Linked DNA regions of Homo sapiens: region 1 is linked to region 2. Evidence: promoter capture Hi-C in 16 types of primary human blood cells and fetal thymus (Javierre and others, 2016). All regions are on one chromosome and are shown on one strand. The core of a region is centred on a gene start or on the middle of the fragment in contact, and the rest is flanking DNA. Distances in the headings are between cores, read along the strand shown.

Evidence for each region. The method cuts DNA at HindIII sites, captures the fragments that hold promoters and counts their contacts. A CHiCAGO score of 5 or more calls a contact.
Region 1: a fragment that was not itself captured here is called in contact with the fragment with the promoter of TIMM8A in region 2 in 2 of 17 cell types (total B cells and megakaryocytes); the score reaches 6.0 in total B cells.

The regions. Positions count from the first base shown.
Region 1 is chrX:101,380,726-101,384,684 of GRCh38, forward strand. The region is part of intron 1 of BTK (Bruton tyrosine kinase); the gene reads right to left. Among named protein-coding and RNA genes, the nearest start is that of BTK, 3.5 kb to the right of the region's middle. The HindIII fragment of the contact is 1,631 bases long and covers 1,431-3,061 here.
Region 2 is chrX:101,347,384-101,351,201 of GRCh38, forward strand. It overlaps TIMM8A (translocase of inner mitochondrial membrane 8A), which reads right to left and starts at 1,359. Exons shown (of 2, transcript NM_004085.4): 1 at 1,150-1,359. The coding sequence starts at 1,281. It overlaps BTK (Bruton tyrosine kinase), which reads right to left. Exons shown (of 19, transcript NM_000061.3): 19 at 2,067-2,573. The coding sequence ends at 2,502. RefSeq lists an enhancer at 1,281-1,330. The HindIII fragment of the contact is 777 bases long and covers 1,295-2,071 here.

The sequences.
Region 1 (3,959 bases), core at 996-3,495, 34 kb after region 2:
CATATGGCCAGGTGCGGTAACTCAGGCCTGTAATCCCAGCACTTTGGGAGGCTGAGGCGGGTGGATGACAAGGTCAGGAGTTTGAGAGCAGCCAGCCTGACCAACATGGAGAAACCCTGTCTCTACTAAAAATACAAAAACTAGCTGGGCCAACGCTACTCTCCCAGCTACTCAGGAGGCTGAGGCGGGAGAATCCCTTGAACCCGGGAGGCAGAGGTTGCAGTGAGCCGAGATCTTGCCATTGCACTCCAGCCTGGGCAACAAGAGTGAAACTCGGTCGCGAAAAAAAAAAAAAAAAAAAAAGAAAATTTATATATATATATATGGTACACATTCTCCAGCAACTTGCTTTTTTCCCCTCAATATAATATGTTAGGATTTATTTATCTGGCTAGTTCTACTTCATATGTTTTAATTCATTTTTATATGCATAAAATATTCTATATGATGAATACATTCCAATATATTTATTCATTCTCCTGTTGATGGACATTTAGGTTGTTTGCTTTCAGTGATAAACAATGCTGCTGTGAACATTATTTTGATTTTTTGATCTCAGAATGAATTCTCAGTTACTTAGACAAACTGGCAAACCTAGGTCCAGCTTATCTTTTGGACTATGCAATTTGCATCATTCCTTCTTGCCTTTTCAGTCCTGTCTTCCTGATGCTTCACTATGAAATGTGGTAGAATTATCAACTATCTCTAGTGGGAGGTTAAATTTGGCCTACGGAAAATCTCTTCCCAGTCCCAAGAAGCATCCTTCACGTTCTAACTGAGATTTCAATTGAGAATTCCTTGGCCTTGGGACCAGAAGAGAACGTGTTAAGAACTGAAATACTATCTATATAATCAAGACCCCTTTATGTACTCCAAAATCTTAGTCTTCTCCCTCCTTAGAGATTACCAATATCTTGAATTTGGTGTTTATCATTCCTAGGTACGTTTTCATATTATCATTACAGATGTAAATATCTATAAAAGATATACAGTATTGGTTTACATGTTTAAAATTTACATATGGCCACGTGTGGTAGCTCATGCCTGTAATCCCAGCACTTTGGGAGGCTGAGGCGGCTGGATGGCAAGGTCAGGAGTTTGAGAGCAGCCAGCCTGACCAACATGGAGAAACCCTGTCTCTACTAAAAATACAAAAATTAGCCTGGCGTGGTGGCGCGCACCTGTAATCCCAGTTACTCAGGAGGCTGAGGCAGGAGAATTGCTTGAACCCAGGAGGCGGAGGTTGCAGTGAGCCGAGATCGTGCCACTGCACTCCAGCCTGGGTGACAGAGTCAGACTCCGTCTCAAAAAAAAAAAAAAAGAAAAAAGAAAAAAAAATCATACCCACAGCAACAAAGCAACCTTTAATCTTGTTAAATTCCCAAGATGCTTTTGTTCGGGCCCCAGTGAAACCCAATTATTTTATGATAAGCTTCATAGTCAAGGCTACAGGGGACCAAATTTGTGATGAAGGCATCAAGCCAAACTCAATTTTCGAAAGCTGCATGCTGACCAGGGAAACTCTCCTGCTGTAGTCATTTACAGGAGGCCTTAGGGCTCTCTGGTTCTTCCACAGCAGTTCATGTTTTATTTATTTATTTATTTATTTATTTATTTTTGAGACAGAGTCTCGCTCTGTCATCCAGGCTTCGGTACAGTAGCGCAATCTTGGCTCACTGCAATCGCTACCTCCCAGTTTCAAGCAATTCTCTTGCCTCAGCCTCCTGAGTAGCTTGGACTACAGCCGCACACCATGACACCTGCCTCGGCCTCCCAAAATGCTGGGATTACAGGCTTGAGCCACCGCGCCTGGCCTTATGTTTTTAGCATTTTACATTTTTCTTCTGTGGTTTTGGAAACTTCTAGGTCTCTGTGATTCATCATCTCTTTTTGTCTTGCATTAGCGACAATATATTCTGGCCAACTGATGATGGAAGGAGAGCCAGAGAGCCAATCTGCAAGTTTATAGTCAGTGCCAGATCAGATCAGTGGTAATACTTTCAATATTCTCCCTCTGCTCTGAGGGTGACTGCTGGGGTGTCTGTCTTTCACTCTGGACTTGTGTGCCCTTTTGGCCTTCTTTTTCAACCTAGTTTTTGTTTTCCTTGGCTTAAACATTTTATTTATTTTTTCCATCGATATCAAAATAACACACGCAGCTGGGTGCAGTGGGGTGCACCTGTAGTCCCAGCTACTCAGGAGGCTGATATTGGAGGATTGCTTGAGCCCAAGAGTTCAAGGTCAGCCTGAGAAACATAGGGAGACCCCCATCTCAAAATAAAACAAAATATAGTAAAATAAAACATGCTTATTGTAGAAAATATGTCAAGTACAGGGATATAAAAAAGAAAAAATCATTCATAAACTCATCCAGAGGCATTAATATATCGGCATATTCCTTCCATTTTTTTCTGTGTGTGTTTCTTATAATATTTGAGATCATATTGCACATTCAGTTAATTTACCTATTTTTCGTAACATCTATGTATGTATGTATGCATGTATGTATGTATCTATCCATCCATCCATCCGTTCAAGGTACCTTTTTCCAAAAAAAGATCTAATGTTCTTATTTAACATTATTCCTAATTATTTTCCCATGTTATTAGGATCTCTATACAAGCATCATTTCCAGAGTCAAAAAAGTATGTGCATTTTGCATTTTGATACATACTGCCAAAATAGTTTCCAGAAACATTGTCCCAATTTCAGTTCCAAATAGTTTTAGAGAGCCCCCTTTCTCATTATCCTTATCTCTTTTCTGGTCCATTTCTAATCATTTTTAAAACTCTGGTTTTACTGCAGACAAATCTTTTTTTTTTTTCATTGAGTCAATGATCTTAAACTCCAGTATATTCCAACTTCCAGCTTGTCTAAAACTTAACTTCTCTTGACTCTAGAATTTCCTTCTTCTAGGGTGAGCTAACAGACTACAGTTTGTTTTCAGTTCAGGGAGGTAGGGCAGTGAGAGGAGCTTCTCCTTGAGATTCAAATAACCAATATAATCCTAAAGACATCTTGTGAGAACTTTCTAAGAGCGGAGAGAAGAGCCTGGTATTAAAGCTTCTGGGTTTCCAATGCTCTCAGATTGCCCTCAGCCACTGCACATGAATCTCCATAGAAACTGAAAGTCACACGTGGCCCAATTGTTTCAGGGTCCTCAGAGGAGTTCTCCCTCCTCCTTCCCCTCCCCAGATGGCTTCATGCATAACCAAGTAGCTTTGGAGTCAAATATGTCAAGGCCTCTTTTCTAGCTTCTTGCTGAGCACTGTGTCACTGAAAATTCTAGTTCTTCCTTATTTTCAGTAGTTAGCAATCAGATCTCAGCAATCAGATCATTGTGGGTGTAGAAGGGGGTATCTGATAACTCTTTGGAGAACGCCCAAACTTTGGTTTTCGAAAGCTGTATCTTCCCTTTATACCTAAGTCACTTCCTGATATGGGTCTAGTCCACTGAAAGGAAACTCTATAGGAAATTTGCTCAAATGGAAATAGCAAATCATAGTGATAATTTAAAATTGCACCAATCCCCCATAACTGGATGGAAAGTTACATTAGTTCGCACCATAAGGAGTTTACAAAGAATTCCAGGGTGGGTGCGGTGGCTCACGCCTGTAATCCTAGCACTTTGGGAGGCCCAAGCAGGCAGATCACCTGAGGTTGGGAGTTCGAGACCAGCCTGACCAACATGGAGAAACCCCGTCTCTACTAGAAATACAAAATTAGCTGGGCGTGGTGGCACATGCCTGTAATCCCAGCTACTTGGGAGGCTGAGGCAGGAGAATTGTTTGAACCCGGGAGGCGGAGGTTGCGGTGAGCTGAGATCCCGAGATCGTGCCATTGCACTCCAGCCTGGGCAGCAAGAGTGAAACTCCGTGTCAAAAAAAAAAAAAAAAAATTCCAAACAAAAATATCAATAGCCATACGCAATGGAAATTTGGACTTCAACACAAGCAAGC
Region 2 (3,818 bases), core at 109-2,608:
CTGAGTAGCTGGGATTACAGGCGGGTGCCACCCCGCCCAGCTAATTTTTTCTATTTTTAGTAGAGACAGGGCTTCGCCGTGTTGCCCAGACTGGTCTCGAACTCCTGACCTCAAGTGATCCACCCGCCTCCCAAAGTGCTGGGATTACAGGCATGAGCCACCGCGCCGGGCAGCTTACAGATTCTTGCAATAGTACTTAACCACACGCCCTCCTAGCCCCAAAGTAACGAATCACAGATATTTTTAAAAAAGAATCAAAGCACTCTGGTCCAAGGCAGACCAGAGTTAAGTAAGCATCTGGTAGGTGTCATAGTCCAGCAATACTGTAAGTTTATGGGAAAGGGCCTATGGAAACCAATGACTGTATATAGTTCAAGTTAAGTGGTTCAAAAATTTCGTTCATTATTCTCTGCCATGTACACAAGCCTCAGACCCTCTAATTCCAAGGAAAATTATCCTTGGCCTCTGAATTCTGTGAATTGTGTACATTAAGGGAGATCTGTCCTTGGCAAGCAGAACACGTTGTTGGCAAGCTGCAAATACCTTCCACCCTTTTGCCAAAGTCCCCTCACAGGGCAGGCTCAATTCCTCAACCTTCAGACCCAAAACGGCTTGGTATTACACAACAATCCAACAAGAAAGCAAATAAGTATGTACGTTGGAAGAGATTACACCACTTTTATAGTTACTGGGCTGGAGCCACTCATTTTTCAGCGGAGAGGGTTAGAACTGGGTAATGAAGGTAAATCCCGAGGAGTCCAGGAATAGCAGATTCACTGATTCACTGACTCTCTGGGACTCGGGCTGCCAAAAATAAAATCCCAGTACTGGGGGCTCCGATCAGTCTTGGTGACCAGCACTAGGCAGCTTCAACCTCGGGTGCCTGAAAGTGCTGGGTGTCCAGTGGCATAAGTCTTCTTTGATACCCAGTCCTCTACACCAACAAAGCCGAGGTCCGGAATGACAGTCCCCAGAGAAGCGGAGTCACCCTTCTCCCATCCGGCTAGGCCACAGGAACCTGAGAAAATCAAGGGTTGCTGCCAGGTGCCCGCCCCCCACCCCGAATCCCCGACGTTGTCGCGAGTCCCGCGGTACAAGGACAGAGGGAAAGTAGGTACAGTGTTCAGGTCCCAGCCCCAGGCTCCTCACCCAACAAAGTTCAGTCATCTGGTGCACCAGCTGCTGGAAGCGCTGCTTTTGAGTCTCTACCTCGATGAAATGCTGCAACTGCGGGTCCACTGCACCCAAACCCGCCGCGGAGGAAGAGGAGGAGGAATCCATCCCAGGGCGACCAAGCTTGCAGAGACGAACTCCGCACCGACCTTCACGTGTCTCCGCGACGGAACCGGAACCACAGCTAGCTGCCTCTGGGACCGCCCCCGTGAGTGCACTGCGTCGGCGCGAGGCAGGCGTCCAACTCCACCCCGCCGCCTCCCACACCTTGGCGCCGGTGCTTCGTTCCCGGAGTCGGCGGGTTCCACTCCCCGGACCCCGCAATCCCGTAACCCCGCAACCCTGCCGTTGCGCCCAGCCTTGCGCCTTGAGATCGCAGGGCTTACAGCCCAGAGCCGAGGTGCCGTTGAGATGTTACTCCAAAAAGAAAAGAAAGGAGAAAAGGAAGTTACTTCAGACCACGTGATCCATTCCGTGCTGGCCCCACAGCTCCGCCCCTGTCCACTTCCAAATTAGCCCGCGTTTTCTGAGCTACCAGAGTTGTGCACTGGGTCAGTTAGTTGACTGGGTCGATTAGTTGGCTATCCTGGGCCCCTGGCTTTCGTTTTTTGATGGAGTTTTCCTCTCCCGACGTAGGGAAATGAGGCTATGGCAGTTTGTGCCCAACTTTCAGATTCATTCAAATAACATTGCATGCGTGCTGTGACAGGCACTGTTTTTGCTTAATGCATCTTTGATTCAGAGGCAGGAGTTAACAAGAGGGCTTAAACCTGGAGGATCCTGTCGAGTTCTCAGTGTAGGAATATGCCAAACTAATGCTACACAGCAGCTTTCTGGAATACTGAGATAGGGCGCTTCAGGGAGGCTGCATGATTAATAGAGATACCAAAGACTTTCAAGCTTTCTAGTAATTTTATTTTATCAAAACACCCTCCCCTCCCATCTTTATGACACCATTTCATTCTTGCCAAATTCGGTCCACCCCCACACACACACCCCCAAGCTCTACCAAATGCCTACTCAAAGAGCTGTTGGACCCCTTTGTGCGGCTATTTACATCCTCCCTCCTAAAAAATATTTTCATCGCAAATTCAGTCTGTCTTAATTCTCTCGGGAAATTTCAGGCACAATAATTTCTTGGCCTTTGCTCAGAAGCCACTATCCCAGGGAATCAAAGAAGAGGTGCATTCCCAGATGTAGAGAGGGGCCTTTTTGTATTGAGTGGGAGCACAAAGGCTCCAGGGCTCCTAAGCTTGGGATTTCCTCTGAGAAAGTGAAATTGGGGCTTGTGGAGAAGAGAAGTAGAACCAAGAAGCTTATTGGCGAGCTCAGGATTCTTCATCCATGACATCTAGAATATTGCTCAGAAGAATTTTGAAAGTGGGACGCTCATCTGCTTTCTAAAACCAAAGAAAAAGTAAAGTGTTAGAGTGGCTAGAATCCAGAATTCAAGGGAAATGCAATGAGTAAGCAGCAAATGTTTATTAAATATATGCTCTATGCCCAGTAGCATGCCCTGTCGATTACAAAAGGAAAAAAAAAAAAAAAAGAAATAGCAGCTCTCCATAAAGTCTTTGTGCACTTTTCATCTTTAGTAACTCAGGTTATTAGTGTGATAAGAACAATTTGCAAATTAAACTGACAATCACACTGATCAAAATTGAGGGCAAGTTCATTATGTAACTGTATACAACACATTCTTATTTTGGATCCTCAAGTGAAAAATGGCTACCAAACAAGTTCAAGTGGTTGGCAGAACAGAAATCCCATGTGATAATTTTTAGTGATTAATATTTCAAAACCACAGGCTGTATTACTGAGCAGGGATTCTGAGTACCTGGGACCTTTTTTTTTTTTTTTTTTTTTTTACCACTGGTAACAAAAAGACTAAGGTTTTTTTTTTTTTTTCTTTTTGAGACAGAGTCTCACCCTGTTGTCCAGGCTGGAGTGCAGTGGTGTGAGCTCAGCTCACTGCCACCTCCCAGGTTCAAGCGATTTTCCTGCCTCAGCCTCCCAGGTAGCTGGGATTACAGGTGCACGCCATCACGCCCAGCTAATTTTCGTATTTTTAGTATAGACCGGGTTTCACCATGTTGGTCAGACTAGTCTCGAATTCCTGACCTAAGGTAATTCCCCCGCCTCAGCCTCCCAAAGTGCTGGGATTACAGGCGTGAGCCACCGCGCCCGGCCTACGACTAAGGTTCTTTTTGATGGCCATGGCCCATAAGCCCCCGAGGTATTTGGTATTTAGTGGTTCAGGGAACATTCATGCCAGAATGCTCTCAATCTGTTAGAACCAATGGTCATCAATTTCTTGATTCCTTGACTCAGTGATTCTTAAACTTAGCTGAGTATCAGAATTTCCTGGGAAGTTTAAAAAGAGATTTCTGGGTTCCACTTCAGGCATAGCTAATCAGAATTTCTGGAGAAAAGTCCCAGTTACCTGAATTTTTTTTTGTGACACAGTCTCGCTCTGTCACTCAGGCCAGAGTGCAGTGGCAGGATCTCGGCTCACTGCAACCTCCACCTCCTGGGTTCAAGTCATTCTCCTGCCTCAGCCTCCTGAGTAGCTGAGATTACAGGCACACATCACCACGCCTGGTTAATTTTTGTATTTTTAGTAGAGACAGGGTTTCACCATGTTG